Linked DNA regions of Homo sapiens: regions 2, 3, 4, 5, 6 and 7 are each linked to region 1. Evidence: promoter capture Hi-C in 16 types of primary human blood cells and fetal thymus (Javierre and others, 2016). All regions are on one chromosome and are shown on one strand. The core of a region is centred on a gene start or on the middle of the fragment in contact, and the rest is flanking DNA. Distances in the headings are between cores, read along the strand shown. Region 1 holds the start of FAM91A1 (family with sequence similarity 91 member A1). Region 2 overlaps NDUFB9 (NADH:ubiquinone oxidoreductase subunit B9). Region 3 overlaps TATDN1 (TatD DNase domain containing 1). Region 4 holds the start of DERL1 (derlin 1). Region 5 has its middle 7.9 kb from the start of TYW2. Region 6 has its middle 8.6 kb from the start of TYW2. Region 7 has its middle 37 kb from the start of TYW2.

What was found. The method cuts DNA at HindIII sites, captures the fragments that hold promoters and counts their contacts. A CHiCAGO score of 5 or more calls a contact.
Region 2: a fragment that was not itself captured here is called in contact with the fragment with the promoter of FAM91A1 in region 1 in 1 of 17 cell types (neutrophils); the score reaches 7.6 in neutrophils.
Region 3: a fragment that was not itself captured here is called in contact with the fragment with the promoter of FAM91A1 in region 1 in 1 of 17 cell types (megakaryocytes); the score reaches 5.2 in megakaryocytes.
Region 4: a contact is called between the fragment with the promoter of DERL1 here and the fragment with the promoter of FAM91A1 in region 1, in 2 of 17 cell types (fetal thymus and monocytes). The highest score is 6.8, in fetal thymus.
Region 5: a contact is called between a fragment that was not itself captured here and the fragment with the promoter of FAM91A1 in region 1, in 12 of 17 cell types (total B cells, erythroblasts, M1 macrophages and 9 more). The highest score is 10.2, in total B cells.
Region 6: a fragment that was not itself captured here is called in contact with the fragment with the promoter of FAM91A1 in region 1 in 15 of 17 cell types (megakaryocytes, M2 macrophages, M0 macrophages and 12 more); the score reaches 23.2 in megakaryocytes.
Region 7: a contact is called between a fragment that was not itself captured here and the fragment with the promoter of FAM91A1 in region 1, in 1 of 17 cell types (erythroblasts). The highest score is 6.2, in erythroblasts.

Annotation. Positions count from the first base shown.
Region 1 is chr8:123,766,751-123,770,367 of GRCh38, forward strand. It overlaps FAM91A1 (family with sequence similarity 91 member A1), which reads left to right and starts at 1,689. Exons shown (of 24, transcript NM_144963.4): 1 at 1,689-2,024. The coding sequence starts at 1,953. RefSeq lists silencers at 1,875-2,024, 3,593-3,617. The HindIII fragment of the contact is 7,175 bases long and covers 1-2,567 here.
Region 2 is chr8:124,539,882-124,543,498 of GRCh38, forward strand. NDUFB9 (NADH:ubiquinone oxidoreductase subunit B9) reads left to right here. Exons shown (of 4, transcript NM_005005.3): 2 at 3,206-3,398. Among named protein-coding and RNA genes, the nearest start is that of NDUFB9, 2.6 kb to the left of the region's middle. The HindIII fragment of the contact is 4,221 bases long and covers 1-3,617 here.
Region 3 is chr8:124,523,375-124,526,991 of GRCh38, forward strand. The region is part of intron 1 of TATDN1 (TatD DNase domain containing 1); the gene reads right to left. Among named protein-coding and RNA genes, the nearest start is that of TATDN1, 14 kb to the right of the region's middle. The HindIII fragment of the contact is 4,231 bases long and covers 1-3,617 here.
Region 4 is chr8:123,040,424-123,044,040 of GRCh38, forward strand. DERL1 (derlin 1) reads right to left here and starts at 1,879. Exons shown (of 8, transcript NM_024295.6): 1 at 1,547-1,879. The coding sequence starts at 1,699. RefSeq lists an enhancer at 1,289-1,828. The HindIII fragment of the contact is 6,787 bases long and covers 1-3,258 here.
Region 5 is chr8:124,456,945-124,460,561 of GRCh38, forward strand. No RefSeq gene overlaps it. Among named protein-coding and RNA genes, the nearest start is that of TYW2, 7.9 kb to the left of the region's middle. The HindIII fragment of the contact is 3,465 bases long and covers 287-3,617 here.
Region 6 is chr8:124,440,407-124,444,023 of GRCh38, forward strand. No RefSeq gene overlaps it. Among named protein-coding and RNA genes, the nearest start is that of TYW2, 8.6 kb to the right of the region's middle. RefSeq lists an enhancer at 1-423. The HindIII fragment of the contact is 6,278 bases long and covers 1-3,617 here.
Region 7 is chr8:124,412,152-124,415,768 of GRCh38, forward strand. No RefSeq gene overlaps it. Among named protein-coding and RNA genes, the nearest start is that of TYW2, 37 kb to the right of the region's middle. The HindIII fragment of the contact is 9,425 bases long and covers 1-3,617 here.

The DNA.
Region 1 (3,617 bases), core at 439-2,938:
TGATGTGTCCACTAAACTCAATATAGTGAGTTTATCAGGCATTCACCTGCTGAACTGCTATCATTAGCTAAAATAATAGTTTACAGGGATTTTTTTAAGCTAAATTGACTTTAATTTTCATTGTTACTTATATTGCATTAGATCTAAGTTAGACTTTGGAAGAATATGGGTTCTTCCACACTTAGAACTGTAAAGCATTATTTTAGAGGATGTTTATGTCGTTGACTTTGAATGAACATTGTCTAAATTGGAACAGGAGGTAGAAGAGTTCAGTGAGTGAGAGCCTGAGTTGGGGAACTGAAAGGATGGCTCTGGAGTGAGGATAGCCTTCGGCTCCAGTTTGGCTCTGTCAGTGCTACCTGTGTGATCTTGCGAGCAAGTCATGAAGCCCTGCCAAGCCTCAGTCTCCTCCTCTATCAAACTGGGATAGTAAGTGGTTACTGTTGTAGGAATATCAGGGTTGTGAGGAATAATCTATTGTCAAGTCAAGGCCTTAATACATGGCGGGCAGGTAATCAATATTTGTTGAATAAATGTCTCACGGTTAGAGTTCAGTTAACCTTAGCTATGCTGATGAGGATCTGTAAACATAAGGTTCAAAGCACTTATCTTTGGGTTATTATAGTTGGATAATAGGAGACCAAAACATCTAAGCAAGGGCAGTGTGTACTTGTCACCTTTATTTCATCAGACATAATGGGGTTTCTGCTAAGCATCAGACTTGCCAGCTGTTGAGGTGTGAGCTAGGTATCTTATAAAAAGTTCTAAGTATACATCTCCCAGTATATAATAAAACATTATTTAAAACCATTGTTAAAAACTGAAAAACAGTTGCAATAACACTGAACTTGTCTCTGGTTGCTGCCAGGAATAATGGTCACGGGTTTGCTAAGGCAGCGTAACAACTTCTGAAAGAAATTATTCCCAAAGACCTTATCACTCAATCTGAAATTAAGACATGCTGGATTTTTGCTTTTAAGTGACTCTGGAGGCATTTGTGTGGAGCAGAATAAAGCAGAAACCGACAGGCTGCATGACAAAGTTGGCAAGGGTATCTCTCTGTCAGCCCTGTAGGCTGCCTCGACCTGTCAGCACCACTGTTTAAAATTTCAGCTCCCTGAATCCCTGCATTGTAAGAATTTGGATCTTCTTGGGAAGTGGAGCCCAATGACGTGCAGCACACCGCGGAAGGGAAGAGGGCTTACCAGACCTTTGCTCTCCCACTGCCCATGCTTCTCGCTCAACCCGGTGCGAGACCTGACTTAGAGATTATTTCTTTCTCCAGGGCCCTGGACCCGTCCCCGCAACCCCCCGCCCCGTCTCACTGGCCCGGGTTCCGGGCTGGCCTGTGGAGAACCCCCGCGAGCGCACCGCACTCCAATGTAAAGCCAGCCACTGCCGGCCCGCTTCCCAGGTCGCTTTTCTCTGAAAACCGACCCCAGTGCCTCCGGCTTTACAATTTGAGTAAACTGGGTCATCAGCAACGGCAACGCAGACCCAAGCGACTATCGCCGTTCATTCAGAGACTGAAACGGGGAGACGAAGCGCGCGGGCGGGGAACGCTCACCCGGGCACCTCCCGGTACCTCGTCGTCGCCCCGCCCCGCAGCCTGTAGAGGGCGTGGCTAGAGGCCAGTCCGTGCCCCGCCCCTCCGGCCGCGCGCCAGCGGGCGGAAGTGACGTGTGCCCAGAGCCATTTCCGGCGGCCCGAAACTAGGAAGAAACTTGGAGCTGTTCAGGCGATCCAGCCTCCAATCGCTGCTGCTCTTGTACTCGGTTGGCCCGGGCGGCGCTGAACTGTCGGGAGCCTAGGCCATGGGGCAGCCTGGGCCTTCTGCAGTGTGAGGCGCGGGGCCTCCCGCGTCGCTCCGCTGACAGGCTGCGGGCGGGCAGGCGGGAGGCGTAGTGTGGGTCGCGGTGGCGGCCCCGGCCGCCGGCCCTGGCCGCGGCATCATGAACATAGACGTGGAGTTCCACATCCGGCACAACTACCCCTGGAACAAGTTGCCGGCCAACGTGAGACAGGTACGGCCGGAACCTGGGACCGGGCCCCTGACGGATTCGGCCCGCCCAGCGGTCACCTGCTTGCCTCGCTCGCGGGGCCCGAGCGGGCTGCTGCCGGCTGACTCCCTTCCTTTACTCCTCCGTGGTCTTGGGGAGACGGACCTTCAGCCCAGGGCGAGGAGGGGACGGCTGTGGGGCCACAGGGCCAGGACGGGGCGATCGCTAAATGGGATGGCATGGTGTCCACAGGACTCGACTGGCGCCTTTGCCCGCAGGATACATTCAGCCAGGCACCTGCGATAGAGATTTTAAACACGGTCCTTGACCTCCGGAATTTCAGGATGGTGGGAAAGGGATGGGAAACAAATGAATACGATACAGGATGATAGCAGCTCATACACACCTGCATTGTAGTATATGTGAGAGCAGAGGGAGGGAGAAATTATCCTGGGAGAGTTGGAAGGATTTTTAAGGCAGGCACTTAAATTGGGCCTTGGAGGACGAATAAGAGTTAAATAAGAGGGAATAAAGATTTTTCCAGGGGGAGGGAAAGTCATTTTACAAAGCTTGGATGAGTGAAAGAACATGTCTCATGAGTAGCAAGTGACTGTATCACCAGAGTTTGGACTGACATGTTTGGAGTTGAAGTTTTTTGAGTGCGCGGGGCTGGTAGCAGATGAGCCTGGAAAAGTGGTCAGGGCCAGATTTTGAAGGTGCTTGTGTGCTTTGTTTTGTTGGACTTTATCCTCCAGACAAGATGGGTTTATCAGAGATGTTTCAACAAGAGTGACATGAGGTTTTTGAAAGTTAATTCTCGATTTTTTTAGTCTGTTTTACTCAATTGTTTAATAGATATTTATTGACCACCTACTAGGTGCTGTGCGTTGCTCTAGGTGCAGGTAATTTGCAACAGTCAACAAGACAAAGACTGCCTTCATGGAGCTTACATTTTACTAAAGAAAGACGTAAACAAATAAATGAATAAATACGTAACATAGCAGATGGTTTTAAGTCTTACGAAAGTAGTGATATGGGCTACAGATAACGCACTGCTGCTCTGGTCATAGATTGACCTTCGCTTCCTCCCATTATACTTGGTCGAGAGTGAAATTCAGTTTTCTGTTGGCACTCGGCAGTGGCATTTTTGGGAAGTTTGGAATGGTGGCGGTGATGGTATATAAGGATTATTTATTTATTTTTATTTTTATTTTCATTTCTTTGAGACAGAGTCTCCTGTTGCCCAGGCTGGAGTGCAGTGGTGTGATCTCCGCTCACTGCAAACTCTGCTTCTTGGGTTCAAGCGATTCTCCTGCCTCAGCCTCCCGAGTAGCTGGTACTACAGGTGCGCGCCACCACGCCCAGCTAATTTTTGTATTTTTAGTAGAGACGGGGTTTCATCATGTTGGCCAGGCTGGTCTCGATATCTTGACCTCATGATCCGCCCGTCTCGGCCTTCCAAAGTGCTGGGATTACAGGCGTGAGCCACAGTGCCCAGCCAGTATGAGGATTGTTATAGTTTAGTTTACTTTGCTCCCTTCCTCCCTTGGGGATTTAGTGCCAGGAAGTGAATATTAAGGTTCTGGTCATGCATCATGTGGCCAAGAAAATGCTTTC
Region 2 (3,617 bases), core at 696-3,195, 770 kb after region 1:
TCATTACCTTTACATCTTTTTCACCTCTTACATAATTCTCTTTCGACCTCTATCCGTCTGAGACTAGTCTGAGAACATAGTGTTAAAATGTGTAGATTTTAATCACCTAAATTCATTGCAGGGTGGGCTAACAACCCAAGATGTGTGAGTGCCTCGCCTCCACTCCAGTCTTACGACTCTCCAAACGTAGTTTTATAAGAAGGCCTTCTGGGAAAAAAACTCTATGGAAAATGGAGTAGGCCTGGAAGAATTACAGAGGGTACCCTCGAAGCCCAGATTGCATATATGTGACTATTAGAAAATCACTGACATACTTCTCTTGATTTGGCAGGAAGATGGCCAAGTACAATGTGATGGGATTGTTAGTTTCTTCCTTGAGTTTTCCTTATTTATTTATTGATTTGACAGAATTTGCAATTCAGATTCTATGCTCTATGCTAAATATATAAATGTTAGTAAATCCATTTTTGAGCAGCAGCAGCTCACGGATTAGTGGGGAAAATGGACATGTAAACAAATCGATGATGAAGGAAGTTGAGCCATCAGGGATTCAGGTATCCCAACACAAATGGTAAATGTTTGAGGTGATGAATATCCAAATTACCCTGATTTGATCATTATACATTATATGGATGTATTAAAATATCACATGTACCCCATAAATAGGTACAATAATTATGTGTCAAAAAAAGTTAAACATGAAAAAAAGAATTCAAGCAATACTGAACTATAGCTGGGAATACTAAAGTCCATAGTTCTAGAGGAAAATGATATAAACTAGCTACTATGACAGTTATGGCTCAGCATTTTTTAGATCTGACATTCTTTCTCAATCCTTGCCTTAATTTCTTCCTCCATTTGCCCTCATTGTGCTGTTCTCTGTGGTTCCATCCTAGGCATACTGTGTTGTTGTATGTACTCGGGCAGCCTCATTTAGTGCTGTCACCACCTGCGCTCATTTGTCTCTAGAGCTGTAGTTCGAATTGCTTGTTAGATCACGACTGTTGGCTGGGCATGATGGCTCACGCCTATAATCCCAGTACTTTGGGAGGCTGAGGTGAGTGGATCACCTGAGGCCAGGAGTTCAACAGCCTGGCCTACATGTGAAACCGCGTCTCTACTAAAAATACAAAAATTAGCCAGGCGTGGTGGTGGGTGCCTGTAATCCCAGCTACTCATGAGGCTGAGGCAGAAGAACCGCTTGAACCTGGGAGGCAGAGGCTGCAGTGAGCCGAGATAGCCCCATTGCACTCCAGCCTGGGCGACAAGAGTGAAACTTTGTCTCAAAAAATAATAATAAAAAAAAAATTGAAAAGATCACCAACCGTTCTCTCAATCTCCATTTATCTAAATTCTTTGAAATCAAACTTGTTTTCCTGTCACTCCCCATTCTGACTCTTTTCCCAAATTCCCTGCCTCCGCTAATGGTATTATTAGTAATTCAGTTACTGAGCTTTAAGTCTCAGAATTGTTCTCAAGTATTTGCTCCTTATTCCTTTGCCAATAACACACATACTCATACACCATGTATAATTAGACACTGGTTTTTATAAATTCTCTTTCCAGTATGATATTAGTAACTGACATTATTTAACACTTGGGATGTACCAGGCACTTTTTAAAGTGTGTTTATCTTATTGACTGTTTATGACAACCTTAAGATATACACACTGTTATTGCCACTGTTTTACAGAGGAGGAACCCGTGGCCTAGAAGACTTTTTTTGTTTGTTTTTTTGTTAGACGGAGTTTCGCTTATGTTGCCCAGGCTGGAGTGCAGTGGCGCGATCTTGGCTCACCGCAAGTTCCGTCTCCCGGGTTCAAGCAATTCTCCTGCCTCAGTCTCCCGAGTAGCTGGGATTACAGGCATGCGCCACCACGCCTGGCTAATTTTTGTATTTTTAGTAGAGACGGGGTTTTGCCATGTTGGCCAGGCTGGTCTTGAACTCCTGACCTCAGGTGACCTCCACCTCAGCCTCCCAAAGTGCTGGGATTACAGGCGTGAGCCACCGTGCCTGGCCTTTTTGTTGTTGTTGTTGTTGTTTTTTTTTGAGATGAAGTCTCGCTCTTGTCCCCCAGGCTGGAGTGCAAATGGCACAATCTCGACTCACTGCAACCTCTGCCTCCCGGGTTCAAGCTATTCTCCTGCCTTGGCCCCCAGAGTAGCTGGGATTACAGGTGCCTGCCACCACGCCCGGCTAGTTTTTGTATTTTTAGCTGAGACGGGATTTCACCATGTTGGCCAGGCTGGTGTAGAACTCCTCACCTCAGATGATCCCCCTGCCTTGGCCTCCCAAAGTGCTGGGATTACAGGCGTGAGCCACCATGCCCGGCCTCATTTTTGTATTTTTAGTAGAGACGGGGTTTCTCCATGTTGATCAGGCTTGTCTTGAACTCCAGACCTCAGGTGATCCACACGCCTTGGCCTCCCAACGTGCTGGGATTACAGGTGTGAGCCACCGCACCTGACCAGAAGACAGTAACTTACCCCAAGTTACACAGCTAGTAGTGGCAGAGCTAAGATTCAGGCCCATACAGTCTGACTGGAGAGCCTATTCTCATAACTTGGAAGTCTCAATGTCTCCCCTGTCTCCTGTCACCATCACAGCTCCGTACTTTCAGGCCCTCGTCAGCTGTGTCCTAGATTATTGTCAAAACCTCCTAACTGATCTTTGCCCAGTTTCTTTAGAACTTGACTTTAACTTGCCTAAGTTTATGCAGCTAGTGTCAGAGTCAGGATACAAACCTAGCTCTGTATGAGCTAAGCAATACTGTTTCTGCCAAGTAACACCTTTCTTATTCATCTTTGTATCTCCAGAATTTAGCATAGTGACTAGCACAAGATAGAAGGAAATGGAAGTTGTCATTCAATGAATGTTGAATGATCCTGCAGAGGTTATAGCTTTTCTCTTGCGAATGCTCTTTTCTTTTTTTTTTTTTTTTTTTTTGTTTAAATCCTCATTCCATTGTTGGATGTAAGAGGAGAAAAATGGTTAGGGTATATATTTAATACAGTATTTTTTTGCTGCTGCTGTTTGGTGGGCTGTAGAGGAAGCAGCCATGATGATACGGCTGCTCCATTGGGAGGGTTGGGGTAGGTCCACTGCCCATCCAGAAGGTATCAGAAGTGCAGCCTCCTGTCAGACAGCAACACTGACCACGTGAGTAGGTAACATTTCTAATCTTCAAAATCATTTTGGTTTAAGAGACAAATACCGATACTTTGCTTGTTTGATGAGAGCCCGGTTTGAAGAACATAAGAATGAAAAGGATATGGCGAAGGCCACCCAGCTGCTGAAGGAGGCCGAGGAAGAATTCTGGTACCGTCAGCATCCACAGCCATACATCTTCCCTGACTCTCCTGGGGGCACCTCCTATGAGAGATACGATTGCTACAAGGTAGGTGAGAATTATGATGACTGCCTTCTGAGAAATAGACTTTGTTTCTTCAGTCCCACACCTCAGCCTCAGAAATCACTTGCCCTTCAAGGGGTAGCTAGGAGACTTATTTCCTGACAGTTGTCAGATGCAGGCCTACCTCATTTTATTGCATTTTGTTTTATTGTGCTTGGCAGATATTGTATTTTCACAGATTGAAAGTTTGTGGCAACCCCGTGC
Region 3 (3,617 bases), core at 559-3,058, 760 kb after region 1:
TGTTATCCAGTGGAAGAGAGGTAACTGCACAAAGAGGAAGCAGCGGGAGCAAAGCCTTCAAGATGGGAAAGAGCACAGTGCTTGTAAAGAGCTACAGGCTGTTCTGGCTGCTGGAGAGAAGAACAATTGGCCCTCTGTATCTCTGGGATCTGGATCTGCAGATTCAGCCAACCACAGGTCGATTGAAAATATTAGAAAATAAAAATAACAACACAACAATAAAAAATAATATAAATAAAAGCACAGTAAGGTATAAAAACCATTTACATAGCATTTACATCAAATTAGGTATTTTAAGTAATCTAGACATGATTTAAAGCATACATGAGGATATGCACAGGTTACAGGCAAACACCAAGCCATTTTATGTAAGGGTTTTGGTATCTGCAGGAGGTTCTGGAACCAGTCTCCTGCCGATACTGAGGGAAGACAGTGTAAGGAAGGGAGAGGTCAGAAGACACCAGACTCAGTTATGGTACAGACACTTGTTTTTAAAATACTGGATGCAACAGAAAGCTCTGTTCTGCTGTAGAATATAAGGGAACATGGGGAACAACAAGATATGAAGTCAGACTGTGACTGGTCACAGGCAAGAAAAAAAAATGCCTCCCTTATTGAAAATACACATAATTTAGCTTTTAGCAGGAGGAGAATCTCAAAATTTGCGGTGGTGGTAGGCAGCTGATTACCAACAGACTCCCTACATTATTTCTGCCAAGTTTCAGCTTCTTGGTATGTTCTCATTCTAATTTCTGCCAAGTTGGTCCCCAGGAGTGTCTGCTCCACCAATAAGACACACCTTGAAAGTGAATGGGAGTTTAGAAAATTTAAGAGACAGTGAAGAGAGTATTCCAGGCATTTGAAACAATAGGGGAAAAAGTAAAATGCAGAAAACTACAAAGATATTTGGGCACTAACATGTCAACAAAGATGGGTGGGATGTGGTACCCTTTAAAAGGGCTATTAACATATAAACATCATCTAATACTATACATACAATATAGAAGTTTGGTGGAATGGCCCAATCCAAAGAATTACTATCTAGTTTCTTTATAAGTAAGTACAGGAAATTAGATAAATGGGGCAGACTGAGAAAGGAAACCCAGGGAAGAGGGGAGAGGCCTTTCTGCCTAAAATAATCCTTCAGAGAGGTTTAGTCTAGGGTCACCGATCATCACTGATCATTAGGAAAACAGAAATGGTCTGTATCTCTTCTAGACCATTTCCCCTTTGTGCAGTGTTAAGCAAACAATTATTCATAACACTTGTCAAAGACTCTGAGGAAGCCTTTATTCAAGAGAGACTACTGACAGAAGGGAAGGTTTTGCAGAAGGGGGAGGGACTGGGCTCAATTTTGAATACAAGGACAAGTGAGGATTTATTGCCACCAAGTAGAATGGGGATCAACAGATGAAAAATTACTAAGAGGAAACATCAAAGGTGAGGGAAGATTCTGGGTTTACTCAACTTGATGGATTTTTGCTGAAGGCAGGCCAGAGTGTCAGGATATTCTGCTTGAGGATTTGAGATCTGGGATGGGGGAAATGAGGGATGAGAAAGGTCTATAGGTCCTGGCTGATGAGGAAAGCAGGTCCTACGTCCCAGTATAGTCTCTGGGTTTATCTGGGCAGACAGAAATGCAGGAAGACTCCTTCAAAAGTCCCTTGACCCAAGTGCAGTGAGAAGCACTTAAAGGCCATGCAGATGTAGACAGTGGTAATCACAGCTGACCACCCACCATCCTTCCACACTTTAGCATCATCCTAATCTTTTTTTTATTTTTCTTTTTAAGACAGAGTCTCACCCTATCGCCCAGGCTACAGTGCAGTGGCACAATCTCAGCTCACTGCAACCTCCACCTCCCGGGTTCAAGCAATTCTCCTGTCTCAGCCTCCCAAGTAGCTGGGATTATAGGCGCCCACCACCACACCCAGCTAATTTTTTGTATTTTTAGTAGAGACAGGGTTTTGCCATGTTGGACAGGCTGGTCTCGAACTCCTGACCTCAGGAGCTCCACCCACCTTGGCCTCCCAAAATGCTGGGATTACAGGCATGAGGCACCACGCCCAGCCAGTCTTAGTAAATTCTTGTACCCTCGCACTGCTGGCCCAGATAGTCACAGCTCACCCGCAACAAATAAGTGAGTCTTTCTGAGCCTCAGTTTTCTCACTAGTAGGGTGGACATAAACTTTCTCCTTCCAGCAACAAAATGTGGCTCAAAACCAAAAACAAATATGAAAGCATTTTGCAAATTAAAAGTCTTATTAGCATGTAATTATTGGGAACACTGTTATTACAAACACTGTAACATGCCAACAACAAATGGAATTTGAATCAGCTTTAGCCATACTGTCATACCACCTTAAGTGGTTAAGGCTCCCGATCCAAGAATGCATTATCAAATAGCCAAATGTGAGTCAATATGTTTTGAACATTAAGACTCATGATGTAATCATGAAAACAAAGCCACTCAAAATCCTATTTATTTAATTTGTTCAAAATGTTCTTATCTATGTTAAGGGATAGTGAGAAACAAAAACCTTGGATCTGAGAAATGCAAGCACCTTTAAATGATCAGGCCCAGAAAGGCATTTAAAATGTTCACAGCAGTCCAAGCTCACTCCCCTTTGAGCTACATAATTACTTCTTGAAGCCGCTTGCTATGTGGGCTCTAGACTGACGCCAAGTGGCCCTAAAATGCCATACACCCTATAGTTCAACAATACATAGCCAATCACTAACCAATGTTATTTCTGTAAACCAATGAGAATCCCTGATTAACCATTTTTGTAACCGCGCCCCACCTTTTGATTTGTCCTTTAAAAATTTGAGCCTCTCTTTTGTTCTCTGGAGCACTCCCCAAGGCAACTTGGAAGTGTGTCCTGGGCTGCAGTCCTCAACTGTTGTGCTTGAATAAACTCTGTAAACTAGATTCTGACCTTTTTGGTTATTTGAGGTTGACAATAGTATCTTTTAAATTAAAAGTCTCTATTAGACATAAGCCTATTGGCATGTAAACTCAAACAAACTAGACAAATACTGTATGAAAACCAATGTCTAGCCAGATCCAGCTAAAGATAGTAAGTAGCTTGAAAAGCTAAGAAAGTAAGAGATACGGGTGGGAGGGAATGATAGGAACAAAAACAAGGCAAAGTGGAAAATTGCTACTTCTCATTAGGGGAGAAAACTGAAGGATTCATACATTCAGTAGCATGTCACCCTATATAGATCAGTAATGTTTCTTTTTCATTAATTTTCTTCAAATAGCTGGCTTGAAAAGCAGCACCTACTTTATTATTTAAGAGTTCTTCAAATATTGACTTTTCGTTTTCAAAACAAAGTAAGAGTAGAAAACGGCACTGTTTGTAACCAGGAGAAAACCACAACTCTTAAGTTGAAGCCTCAGTTATTGGGCTCACTGAATCGTGTCACATCACTGTCACCTATGATCTAGGAATACAAAGGGACAGCAAATAAGGCACAATTTGTTTTTTAGATATTGCTAGTCTTTAGATATAACCCCGAGTTTATAGCAAATACGGGGGATTAGAGAACAAGCTCAATGACACTACTATTTAGCAAACAGACAAAGCCAGGAGACAGACTTTCTGTAGGGT
Region 4 (3,617 bases), core at 629-3,128, 730 kb before region 1:
AGAGATCCAGATAAGCACTGAAGTAACAGCAAGGATCTCATTGTGGAGCCTAAGGTACAAGTTGGAGAGTAGTAGGAGATGAGGTCAGAGAAGCAGCAGGGGCCTTGCAGGCCACTGAAAGGACTTGGATTTTACTCATTAAGAAGACATGGTAGGATTCTGGACAGAGGAAAGACAGGACTTGATGTAGGTTTTAAAAGGATCACTCTAGCTGTCTAGAGAAAAGATGGAAAGGAACCAGATTGCAGTGATAATGGCTTGCAATGGAGAATGAAAAGGGATTGTATTCTGGATATATGTCTCAAGTAGAGTCAATAGGATTTGCTGACAGATTGTGGGGTGTGAGAAAAACAAGAAAAATAAAAGATGACTCCGACAATTAACTTCAGCTCCTCTAATAACGGAGTTGCTATTCACTTCTAAGGCAAAGGGGGAAAGGGGATTCAGTTTTGGACACGTTAAGATGAAGATGACTCTTAGTCATCCAAGTCGTGATTTCAAGTAACTGCTGGATGCACAAATCTGGAAATAGGGAGACAGATCTGGACTGAAGATATTTATATTTATATTTCAGAATCTCCAGTTTATAGAAAGTATGTAAAGCCCTGAGGCTGAATGAATGAGACCACCTAAAGCTAGGGAGAGTCTATAGAAAAGGTCCTATAACTGATTCCCAAGGCACATCCTAACATTTAAAAGTCAGGAAGATAAGGAACCAGCAAAGGAAACCAAGAAGTAACACCCAGTGAAGACAGGGAAAGACAAGAAAATGTTATCCATAGGCCAAGTAAAGGGCTGAAATTAATGCCAGATCTTGCTATCTGACCTGCCACTGATTGAAGTTTTAAATCAGAAATTGGTGAATACAGATAACCTTCAGAAAACTGGCACTCTCTTGACAGAAATGTTACTCTGGACTGTTTCCTTCATGCTTAAGAAAATAACAAGGCCTTCCATTTCTGGACAAATGTACTCTTTGCCCATTCCTTCGTACATTCTATTACTACGTGGGGGACACTAAATTAGGTCTAGAGGGAAATGCAGAACAATACACTCGTTCTTTGTATCTCTGACTTTAAATCACTCCTATAGGAAAACCAAAACAAAAAAACTCCATAAACGTGAAAGGAACTCAGCTATAAGTTGGTGAAGTTGACACCTACAGGCCACCCACGTGGGTGACAGAGGGAGGTCAGAGGGCAATGCTCCAGGCGGACCTAATCGCCAGCGTCCAACAGATTGACAACTACCAACGACTAATCTCACTGCTTCCTTCACTGAGTGCGAAGAGCGGGAAGCACAATCTCACTATACCAGTGAAGTCAACCCCTCCCCACCAGGCCAGCCCACAACTCCAGCTATCCAGCACCCCGCTCCAGATCCCAGAGCCTCCCCGGGCCCAAAGGACCCCGCCCTAAACCGCCGGCGCCGGACCCACTACAAATCCCAGCAGGCACCGCGCGCCCGCAACATGCCAGCCTACGCTTAGCCGCCGCTGGGCCTCCTGGGGCCTGTAGTCTCCACGCCCCCCGTCTCCGGTAAGTACCTGAAAGCGATAAAGGAAGGCTTCGGGCCAGAGGAAGAGGTAGGCCGGGCTGATGAGGCCGAGTTTGCCGACCAAGGGCACGGCGACGGTGGCGGCGAACCAATAGCGCGTGATCGCCGGGATGCTCCTGAACCAGTCTCCGATGTCCGACATCTTCGACCCACAGGTAGCCAAGATGCACAAGACCGCCCGACTCCCCGTGCCGACCCCCTCACGACGCGGCCGGCTCCGCGACTGTTAGGTGTCTAGGTGGAAGCCGCCGAAGCCGCGATGCAGAAGGCGGAGACGGGCGGACGTGGCGCCACCGAATTCGGACCAGCGAGGCAGCCTTCTGAGGCGAAACTTCCCCTTCCGGCGACCGCGGACGACGTGACCAGAAGTCCCGCCGCTTAAAGGGTAAGCGCCGATTTTACCGCCCGGCCGAGGCTCGGCGTCCTGGGGGGCGGAGCCAGGTAGAGCGACTACACGACTGGTGGGAAAACAGTGGTTGCCTGGATCAACGGCAAACGCTCCGGCCAGTGGCGAGGCCAAATGCCATTCACCTAGTTCTCAGAGTTTTAATGCGGCTGGGTCCACCTGGAGGGTATTTAAAGGGGACGAAGGCAAACGAAGTGTCTAGTTCCTCGTCTGCTTACTCATTCCACAAGTGTTTGTTGGGCACAGTTCTAGACACTGGGCAGCTGCGGCTGTCAGCGCTGTCGTGGTACCCTCTCTCCTGATCTTAACATCCTCATTGGGATAATTTATAAACAAATAGATAATGAAGTAAGATAATCTCAGAGAGTGATTAGAAAAATAGGAAAATGAAATGAGATGATGAGGTGGAGTGACGGGGTGGGGGTGCGGCAGTGTGAGGACAGATGGCTACCTTAGGTATGAACTGGGCCAGCCAGGCAAGAGATCTGGGGGAAGAATTTTCCATGCACAGAGAAAAGCCGCTCTAACTAGGTTGGAATGTTGGAGGAACTAAAAGCCAAAATGATCCATCTTGTCTAATTCAACTTGTATAAGAAGGAATCTTTAAGAAAAGATACTGGCCAGGCGCGGTGGCTCACGCCTGTAATCCCAGCACTTTGGGAGGCCGAGGCGGGCGGATCACGAGGTCAGGAGTTCGAGACCAGCCTGGCCAACATGATGAAACCCCGTCTCTACTAAAAATACAAAAATTAGCCGGGCATGGTGGAGGGCGCCTGTAGTCCCAGCTACTTGGGAGGCTGAGGCAGGAGAATCGCTTGAACCCGGGAGGTGGAGGTTACAGCGAGCCGAGATTGCACCATTGCACTCCAGCCTGGGGGACAAGAGCCAGACTCCATCTCAAAAAAAAGAAAAAAAGAAAAGATACTGAGTAGAGTTTCCCGTTGTTTTGGGATTTGGGGCCAGCAGTTTAAGATTGCTAAAGTCTTCCAATAAAGAGCACCAGGAACAAACCTGTAGTCAACAAAGTTAGATTTATTAACTTGCTGCAGCAAGGGAGACTGCACTCCAGAGGAACCTCAATGCCTCTCATCAAACGGAAGTGTCATTATTGGGTTATGGGAATGGGGGGATTTTTTGGTAAGAATTAACTGGAGCAGTGTTTGATAGACTCGAAGCAAAGCAGAGCTGTGTGCAGCATCAGGTTAACATCAGACCTGAGTAGGAAGCAGGCTCTTTCCTTGGAAATCTCAAAATTACGACAAATGTGAAACGTTGGGTCTGAAAACTCTATCTAAAGCTTTGTACCTGTATTGAAAATCCTGTGTCAAAGTGACCTGTATGGCTCAGATGCTCTGGACAAGAATGGGATGTTCCATTCACACGGAAAGGATGTCAGACAGCAGAGTTTCCAACATTCCATAATTTTAGAGAATATTTGTCAGCACCATATCCTTGATGTTAATTAATAAAAACAGTTTTTTCATAACAAAAAGGCATTAAATATTCCACAGTGTAATGAGAGTATACAACATTTGGGAACCAATGGATAGCAAATCTACGAAGAACACAGCTGGTGGGAATATAAATTGATACAGCCTTACAAAAAGATAATTTTGATATAAAAGCTAGATATTTATATAAATAACAGATAATA
Region 5 (3,617 bases), core at 769-3,268, 690 kb after region 1:
TGAACAGGGTGACTAGGAAGGTAGGAGCAGGGATGCCTAAGGGAGTGTTAAAGAATGAGCAGGAGTTAATGTGTGGATGGAAGAACAGAAGCCTCCCTTAAGCTTTTTCTCTACTTAAGCATGTTCATTTACATTTTAGTTTTCTTTGAGGACTTGCTGGATTGCCCTGGTTGGGAAGAGGCATCTTATGGAACCAATGAAAAAAGACTGAAGGGTTCGGGAGGCTCATGGGGTCCTTGTCATCTCAGTCCAGCAATTTGTATAAGCTCTAAAGGCTTCCCATGCAAGCTTCAGTATTAGTTGCCAGTCAATGCAGCCACCTGATAGAGATATTGTGATTTTTAAAAAATAGTAATTTTTAAAAACTCCCTCAAACTTGAGCTGCTTTATTAACTTTGTAATTTAAAAAATTATATGAGTGCAGTAATATATGAGTACAATATGTGCCTTTGAAATACACAAATAGGCCAGGTGCGGTGGCTTATGCCTGTGATCCCAGCACTTTGGGAGGCTGTGGCAGGTGGATCACCTGAGGTCAGGAGTTTGAGACTAGCCTGTCCAACATGGCAAAACCCTGTCTCTACTAGAAATACAAAAATAAGCCAGGTGTGGTGGTGGGCTTCTATAATTCCAGCTACTTGGGAGGCTGAGGCAGGAGAATCTCTTGAACTCAGGAAGTGGAGGTTGCAGTAAGCCGAGATTGTGCCACTGCACTCCAGCCTGGGCAACAGAGCAAGACTCTGTCTCAAAAACAGAAAAACCATACACGAACAGAAATTAAAAATAGTAAGAAACAAATAGAATTTAAATTTCATTTTCTCCTACCCTGGGCATACATGTGACAAAATCCAATATATATCACTCTGAACAGCCTCAGGGTACAGCCACTTTATATTGCACAAGCTGTAAAAGTAGTCATTTTCAAACTCAACTATTATTTAAAATGATTACAAGCATTTAAAATGTTTAAAATAAAGATCCAACCCTGTTCACTTGGGAAACAGTTGTGGCAGTTCCTTAAAGTGTTGAACATAGGGTTAGCATATTACCCAGCAGTGAATTAACCAAATAAATAAGACATATGTGATAGAGGTATATATACCCAAGAGAATGCAAACATATGTCCACACAAAGGCTTGTGCGTGAATATTTGTAGCAGCATTATTCATAGACAAAATGTGGAAACAACCCAAAGTCCATCAACTGATGAGTGGTTAAACAAAATGTCATATATATACAATGGAATCTGTAAAAAGGAATGCAGTACTGATACATGGTTTCTGGATGAACCTTGAAAACATTATGCTGAGTGAAAGAATCCAGTTGCAAAAGGTCATTTATTGTATGGTCCCATTTATATGAAATGGCCAGAATAGGCAAATCTATAGAAACAGAAAGTAAGTTCCCAGGTGCTGGGGGGAGTGGAGAATGGAGAATGACTGCTAATAGGTACTGGGTTGATTTTGTGGGAAGATGAAAATGTTCTGAAAATAGATGGTGGTGATGATTGCACAACTCTATAATATATGAACCAGCCATTTAATTGTATATTTTTAAAGGGTGAATTTCCCTACTTGCTTCAGCAACATATATACTAAAAGGGTGAATTTTATAGTATGTGAATTATATCTCAATAAAGCTGTTAAAAAAAAAAAAGCAAAGAACTTGGAAACACTTCCTACAGGAAGGAACACCAGAGCTGCATTTTATTATTTTTAGGGTCTTGCTTTGTTGCCCAGGCTGGAATGCAGTGGCGCAATCAAGGTTCACTGCAGGCTGGGTGCAGTGGCTCACACCTGTAATCCCAGCTCACGCCTGTAAACTTTGGGAGGCTGAGGTGGGCAAATCACACCTGAGGTCAGCAGTTTGAGACCAGCCTGGCCAACATGGTGAAATCCTGTCTCTAATAAAAGTACAAAAATTGGCCAGGTGCGGTGGCTCATGCCTGTAATCCCAGCACTTTGGGAGGCTGAGGCGGGTGGATCATAAGGTCAGGAGTTCCAGACCAGCCTGGCCAAGATGGTGAAACCCCATCTCTACTAAAAATACAAAACTTAGCCAGGGGTGGTGGTGGGCACCTGTAGTCCCAGCTACTCGGGAGGCTGCGGCAAGAGAATCGCTTGAACCCAGGAGGCAGAGATTGCAGTGAGCCAGTATCACACCACTGCACTCCAGCCTGGGTGACAGAGCAAGACTCCGTCCCCCAAAAAAAAAAAACATACGAAAATTAGTGAGACATGGTGGCAAACACCTGTAATCCCAGCTACTCAGGAGGCTGAGGCAGGAGAATCGCTTGAACCCGGGAGGCGGAGGTTGCAGTAAGCGGAGATCACACCACTGCATTGTAGCCTGGGTGACAGAGTGAGACTCTGTCCCCCACCAAACAAACAAACAAACAAACAAAAGACTTACTTGCAGCTTTGACCTCCTGAACTGCAATCCTCCTGCCCCAGCCTCCTGAGTAGCAACCTCCCACACACCCACCCCCCCAAGTTCAAGTGATTCTCCTGCCTCACCCTCCCGAGTAGCTGGGATTACAGGTGTGCACCACCATGCCTAGCCAATTTTTGTTTTTAGTGGAGACAGGGTTTCACCATGTTGGCCAGGCTGGTCTTGAACTCCTGACCTCAAGAGATCCACCCACCTCAGCCTCCCAAAGTGCTGGGAATACAGGTGTGAGCCACTGTGCCCACCCATAATTTTTAATTTTTTTTATAGATAGAGGGTCTCACTATGTTGCCCAGGCTGGTCTCGAACTCTAGGGCTCAAGTGATCCTCTAACCTCAGCCTCCCAAAGTGCTGGGATCACAGGCATGAGCCATGGTGCCTGTCCTAGAGCTGAATTTTGAATAGAATCAACTATGTAAAGGCAGAGGAAGTGAGGGCCCCTTAACCTCTTCTCCAAGATAAGCTATTTGTCTCATTGAAACTTTCTTTTGAATCTTACAGTTACCATTGTGTGTTTCCTATAGGCCCTTCTCCAGATTCTCCAAGTTGTTCCCAAGAACCTTTTCACTGGGGCCCAGAATTGACTCACAGTATCCATCCCAATTCCCCTTTCTCTTAAAAAGGAGAAGCTGGAAAACTCAAGTACTAAATTTCCCAGCCTCTCTTGCACAGATAGTGACCATGTGAACCAGTTCTGGCAAGGAGCTGCAGGCAGAGGTCCCCGGGGAGGGCTTTGGGTCTCTGACCCTGGAGATGTAGCAGCCATCTCTCCAAGCATGCTAAGACTGGCAGAGCAGCATTGTAGGACTGATTTCTTAAGGGGATCTTTGATCAGCTACACAGCCCTGAAATGTCTATCTCTGCACTTGTCATGTGAAAAAATAAAAAAATAAAATAACCTGCAATCCCACCCCCAAGTCTATTTAAGTCACTGTGCGAATTTTTTTTTAACTTACAGGCAAGAAATATTTCTACCTGATATTCTGAGTACTAGATTAACCAAATAAATTAGACATATATAATAGAAGTGAGTAAATAAAAACTGAGTGGGAATGCTCACAGAGCTCATACCACCCAAAACAGGGCATCTTGAAATCAGTTCTTTTTTTCAGGTGTTTCATCGGTTAATGCTTCCATCCAGTGAAATAAAAACTTCATTCAGCCTTGAA
Region 6 (3,617 bases), core at 466-2,965, 670 kb after region 1:
GCATAAGCCACCGCGCTAGGCCATAAGGGATATTTAATGGAGATGCACTGACAAAACCTGTGGGGCCCTTGAGGCGCCCTGGACATCCCTCCATCTGAAGGCCAAATACCGGACATTCCTCACCACCCTCAGCTGCCTCGGTGCAGGTGCCTGCTGCCATCTAGTGTCCATCTTTTAGAACTACACCACTGCTTTGGGACATGAACTATTTTTCCTTCCGCACTTTCTTTTTTCATTCATTCATTCATTCATTTGTTCATTTATGAAAGGAAAATAAAACCTCAGGATCTCGATTTAGCCTACCAAAAGGAAAAAAGAATAAGCCAAAAGCCGAGTCACGCAAGAAGCTGCCTTTTCTTTTGTTCCTAAGCAGATGCTACAGATAAAAGGCCAGATATCTCCAGCTGCTGGTTGTCCACCTTATCTTATCAAGTGCCGATTTACTGAGCATGAGACAAATACATAACTGACTATTCCCCTACCTGTTCCTTGTCTCTTGCAACATGTGGATTCTGTGATGTGACTGGACCTTCCCTCTTTCCAGCCTGCTTTTCCCCTTTAGATATTGAAGCCCACAAAATCATCTTTGGAGAAAGGCACAGATCGCAGACTGTTTCTGTGGTTTCTATATTCCCTTCTTCTGGCGTGTGCCTTACATTGGCTTCTAAACTTTACAAACTTCTAAATTGACTGAGACTTGTGTCAGACATATTTTGGTTGACAAATTGGCATCCAACAGAAGGGACTCTGAGTGGAGGTGGTCCTGACTGTTGAGAAATCTGACTTTGGTGCTTGGTACCAGCCCGGGCTACTTTTATTGCTCAAACTGTTACAGGAAAGGGGTCTGGAGCCAGACCACAGAGTGAGTTCTTGGATCTCTGACAGGAAAGAATTCTGGGCCAGTCACAGAGCACAGTGAAAAAAGCAAGTTTATTAAAGACTACTCTATTACAGAGTAGGGCATCCTCAGAACTAACAACAAGAGGAGGCCAGGCACCGTAGCTCACACCTATAATCCCAGCACTTTGGAAGATGAGGTGTGACAACTGCTTGAGACCAGGTGTTCAAGACCAGCCTGGACAACATAATGAGACTCCATCTCTACTAAAAATAAAAAAAATTTGCCCTGCATGGTAGCATACCTGCAGTCCCAACTGCTAGAGAGACTAGGCAGTAGGATCTCATGAGTCTGGGATGTCAACGCTGCAGTGAGCCATTATTGTGCCACTGCACTCCTGCCTGGGTGACAGATAAGGCTTGTCTTGAAAGAAAAAAAAAAGGAAAAGAAAAAAAAAAGCAAGAGTAGGACTCTGAACACAAATAAAATGCTATATAATAAGGGAGCTGGCCAGGCATGGTGGCTCACACCTGTAATCCCAACACTTTGGGAGGCCAGGGAGGCTGGATCACTTGAGGTCAGGAGTTCAAGGCCAGCCTGGCCAACACGGTGAAACCCTGTCTCCATCAAAAATATAAAATATTAGCCAGGTGTGGTGGCGTGCACCCATAATCCCAGCTACTAAGGAGGCTGAGGCAGAAGAATCATTTGAACCTGGGAGGCAGAGGTTGCAGTGAACAGAGATCATGCCACTGCACTACAGCCTGGGTAACAAAGCGAGACTCTGTCTCAAAAAAAAAAAAAAAAAAAAAAAACAAGAAGAAGAAAGCAAGCTAAGAATAATAATGAACTTATGTGCTTTATTATAAAGGCTTGTGACCAGCTTGTGACAGGCTGATGTTATCCTCTTGTGTAACTATTGAGTTCAGCAGGAATTTAGGGATATACTATTACCTATTAGTATAAGAAACCTATTATCTATTAATATAAGAAGCCTATTCTTAGACTAAGAATACTTTTTGGTCTTGAGATATCAGGACTTCAAGACTTTCTGTTAAGTTCTGGGTCTTGTTTACTTATCATTAACTCATTCTCTCAACCATAAAGGTCCTGTGAAGGAGAGTGCCTAGCTTCCTGGGAATGGAATCCAGCAGGTTTCACTTCATTTGGCCTTATTCAAGACGGAGTCACTCTGGTTTGGACACCTCTGATATATTTTCCTCCTCCCTTTTATAAGGGGATCCTTAATTCTAAGGGGTACAGAGGGACAGAGGTCCATCTTCATAAATGTCTTCAAGGTGAACAGGAGCAATGATATTCCTCCCTAACCACTGGGATCCCTTGTATTTAGATTGGAGAGGAGTTCACTCAGCAAGTGTTGGCGTGGTGAGGACCAATCATTATTGTGACTTTCAACAAAAGGTGAAATCTGGAAAATTAGTAAGTGTTCAATTTAAAGAAGCTATTTAATAGGTTTACCTTGTTTTCTTTTCTTTTCTTTTTTTTTTTTTTTTTTTTTTTTTGACGGCATTTTGCTCTTGTTGCACAGGCTGGAGTGCAATGGCATGATCTCGGCTCACTGCAACCTCCGCCTCCCAGGTTCAAGCGAGTCTCCTGCCTCAGCCTCTTGAGTAGCTGGGATTACAGCTGTGTCCCACTATGCCCTGCTAATTTTGTATTTTTAGTAGAGATGGAGTTTCACTACGTTGGCCAGGCTGGTCTTAAAACTCCTGACCTCAGGTGATCCGCTTGCCTCGGCTTCCCAAAGTGCTGGGATTACTGGTGTGAGCCACTGTGCCTGGCTAGGTTTACCTTGTTTTCTTGCACAAAAATTACAACAGCAATACATTCCACAGCAACAAAACAGAATCTGTTCCAAGCATCTGAACAAAAAGGTTTTCCATGAACCAGACAATTGCTGGAACCACCCTGATATGGGGTCAACTGACAGTGTGTTAATGGCAGAGATATGGGTGTCTAAGTCCTTCATGGCCTGAGTAATATTATGTTAATATTATGGAATATACAAACAACATTCCATTTTGATGATAGCACAAGATCTCCCTTGAGCCGCTGTTAAAATGTCCAAAGCCATGCAGTTTCGTAAGGCTACCTGTCTAATTTGAGAAGTCTCTTCAGTTAGTAGGATAATGGCATGCTGTGTAGTATTGAAAGCTGTAGCTGTATGTTGGAATACAGATTCAACTTGCCACTTGACATCCATTACAGCCACCTCTGACAGTAATATAGCCCTCGAGAAAAACCACCAAGTAGGGTCAGGCGCGGTGGCTCACGTCCATAATCCTAGCACTTTGGGAGGCCAAGGTGGGTGGATCATCTGAGGTCAGGCATTTGAGACCAGCCCGGCCAACATGGCAAAACCCCATCTCTACTAAAAATACAAAAAAATTAGCTGGGCGTGGTGGCAGGTGCCTGTAATCCCAGCTACTCTGGAGGCTGAGGCAGGAGAATTGCTTGAACCCAGGGGGCGGAGGATGCAGTGAGCGGAGATCATGCCACTTTACTCCAGCCTGGATGTAAGAGCGAAACTCCGTCCTGGAAAAAAGAAAGAAAGAAAAAAAAAGAGACCTCTTTGGTCACCTGTGGCGAGATTTCCCAACTTTCCAGTTAGACGGGAGAGAGTCTAATTTAGTGAGGATATGTCCTGGGAGATAAGGATGACCCCATGTACATCTTCCAATCCAATTACAAGATAAATACAGCCAGCCATGAGACCCACATGCCCATAGCCAGCCCCAAGGAGAAAGACAAGCAACCA
Region 7 (3,617 bases), core at 476-2,975, 650 kb after region 1:
ATGTTAGACCTAAAACCATAAAAACCCTAGAAGAAAACCTAGGCATTACCATTCAGTACATAGGCATGGGCAAGGACTTCATGTCTAAAACACCAAAAGCAATGGCAACAAAAGCCAAAATTGACAAATGGGATCTAATTAAGCTAAAGAGCTTCTGCACAGCAAAAGAAACTACCATCAGAGTGAACAGGCACCCTACAGAATGGAAGAAAATTTTTGCAATCTACTCATCTGACAAAGGACTAATATCCAGAATCTACAAAGAACTCAAACAAATTTACAAGAAAAAAACACACAACCCCATCAACAAGTGGGTGAAGGATATGAACAGACACTTCTCAAAAGAAGACATTTATGCAGCCAAAAGACACATGAAAAAATGCTCATCATCACGGGCCATCAGAGAAATGCAAATCAAAACCACAATGAGATACCATCTCACACCAGTTAGAATGGCGATCATTAAAAAGTCAGGAAACAACAGGTGCTGGAGAGGATGTGGAGAAATAGGAACACTTTTACACTGTTGGTGGGAGTGTAAACTAGTTCAACCATTGTGGAAGACAGTGTGGTGATTCCTCAAGGATGTAGAACTAGAAATACCATTTGACCCAGCCATCTCATTACTGGGTATATACCCAAAGGATTATAAGTCATGCTACTATAAAGACACATGCACATGTATGTTTACTGCAGCACTATTCACAATAGCAAAGACTTGGAACCAACCCGAATGTCCATCAATGATAGACTGGATTAAGAAAATGTGGCACATATACACCATGGAATTCTGTGCAGCCATAAAAAAGGATGAGTTCATGTCCTTTGTAGGGACATGGATGAAGCTGGAAACCATCATTCTCAGCAAACTATCGCAGGGACAAAAAACCAAACACCGCCTGTTCTCACTCATAGGTGGGAATTGAACAATGAGAACACTTGGACACAGAAAGGGGAACATCACACACTGGGGCCTGTTGTGGGGTGGGGGGAGTGGGGAGGGATAGCATTAGGAGATATACCTAATGTGAATGACGAGTTAATGGGTGCAGCACACCAACATGGCACATGTATAGATATCTAACAAACCTGCATGTTGTGCACATCTACCCTAGAACTTAAAGTATAATAAAAAAAAAATACTGACCTTCATCAATAAGCAGGAAAATACTTAGATAGGTACTATTTATTTACATTCTAATACATTTTACAGTTATTAAATACAACTGTCTTTGTACTTCTCTGCATTTTATTTTATGGATTTAAACTTGTGCAGCTCTTCCATTTACTAGCACAATGAACCAGAGCAAATTTCTTCCCCTCTGTTTCCTCGTGGATGAAATGAAGATTAAAAATGTGCATCACAAGGTTGTTACGAGAATTCACTGAGATGATTTTCATAATGAACCATAGAGCACCAGGCTCATAGTAGGTACCTAACAAGATATTCTTTCCATTGCCTGTCTCCCAAAACTCTTATGATTATGGAGTTCTTAATGAATTTCAAGATAATAATTGGTGTATGACATTATGACATTTTCCAGACCTGTGTACTGTTATTAAATCTTAATTGTAGCTACTGCTAAAAATATCTAAGACCAGTTGCTTAATCTGACTTTGACCTTGACATATTTAAATACTGACAGGGTGTTTGGAAGCCTAGTTTCAGTTTTGACTAGTGTTTTCTGAATAGCTTTGGGTAAATAATTTATTGTTTCTATCTAAAACAATGGTCCCTTGCCTTTGCATAACTTTCAGTACATAAGTTTGAATGTAATTTATAAAATTGAGATGGTTATTAATAAGAATAAAGAGATAAGGTGTTTTCTCAGAAAGCATGCATAATTAATATTATTGCCTTAATGATTAAATTGTACTTAATGAACCATATTCTGCCAGAGTCTGAAGTAGTCCCTTGTTAATTAGAATAACCTTTGAAATCATTACCTTTGGGTGTCTATTTGATATCAGCGAGGCGTGACATATTAAGTAGCCAGGTTATCCAGGCTCCAAAGATCAGTGCATTATAAATCACCAAGTATTTATGAAATGCCTACTTTTCTGTAAATTCCTTGAGAGCAGCAGCCATATATTTTTCATCCCCTACCATTTATGAATCACAGTTATCTGAGATGTATTAAATTTAGTGGCTTCTCTTCAAGGATTTATAAGGAAGATACGAAAATTGCAAATGGGTTTTTTTTTTACAATGGTTTCCCTTAACATAGTTTTCTATAGAAATGTATGCATATGTGTATTTCTATACAAATGCATAACTTTTACATAAGTAATTATATAAATGAAAATGGTAATAAAAATATATTTGTAATATGTAACATATTACTCTCTCTCTCTCTCTCTCTCTCTCTCTCTCTCTCTATATATATATATATATATATATATTTTTTTTTTTTTTTTTTTTTGAGACAGGGTCTTACTCTGTCACCCAGGCTGGAATGTAGTGGCACAATCTTGGCTCATTGAAACCTCCACCTCCCGGGTTCAAGCGATTCTCCTGCCTCGGCCTCCCGAGTAGCTAGGACTACAGGCGTGCACCACCATGCCCAGCTAATTTTTGTATTTTTAGTAGAGACGGGGTTTTCCCATGTTGCCCAGGCTGGTCTCGAACTCCTGACCTCAAGTGATCCACCTGCCTTGGCCTCCCAAAGTGCTGGATTATAGGCATGAGCCATCACACCTGGCCAATATACACTTATAAGTATATGACATAGTAAATATGCAATGCATTATGTTTCTAACTTAGTCCATAAACTTGAAGTGATCCCAAAATAAATAAAGCAACCAAATTGCTACTTCCTTTTGAGCATAATTACAATATTTAAATTTGTTGACTCATTTTTTTAAGAGACAGGGTCTAGCTCTGTTGCCCAGGCTGGAGTGCAGTGGCATGAACACGGCTCACAGCAGCCTCAACCTCCTGGGCTCAAGCGATCCTCGTGTGTTGGCTCCCTAGGTGCTGGGAACTAGGTGTGAGCCACCATACCAGGCCCATATATTTTAATATATAACAAGATGCCTAAGGATCATCACTAGGCCAGGTTTCCCTCCAAAGTGAATCTTTGGTTCACAACCACTATGTAAATCCCCAAACAGGATGGTGAGACTGAATTGGGGGAAAAGAGAGAGACAGAAAGCATAGGGAGTTGCCGTGAGTCACACTCCAGTGGCAGAAAAGGGACCAGGAGACTTTTGGTTTGTATTCCTCTGGCTCCCAGGAAATAATATTGGTAATAGGCTCTGCCAAAGTCAGTGTTGATGATTTATAAAGTGTCTATCTCTTGTACATCAGGTATTTATGACGCAGAGTCTATGGGATGTGTAGTGGATTTATCCACCAGACAGAAAGAAGTTCTGGATTTCAAGAGTGACTGCCCTGAAATTTTAGGCAAAGTCCAGATTGTATATCCATTACTCTGCAGAGGGTCATTCCAAAGCATTCTGTGACTCAAGTTAAGAGCCCAAAAGATAGGGTTTCATTTGCCCCCCATAATTACTTGGTGAGGGGGATAGTGTGAGGATCATTACCTCAGGGTCCTCCCCCAATCAGGGCCTGTGGGTAACAATTAGTGGCCCCACACAGTTCACCAACCAGCTGC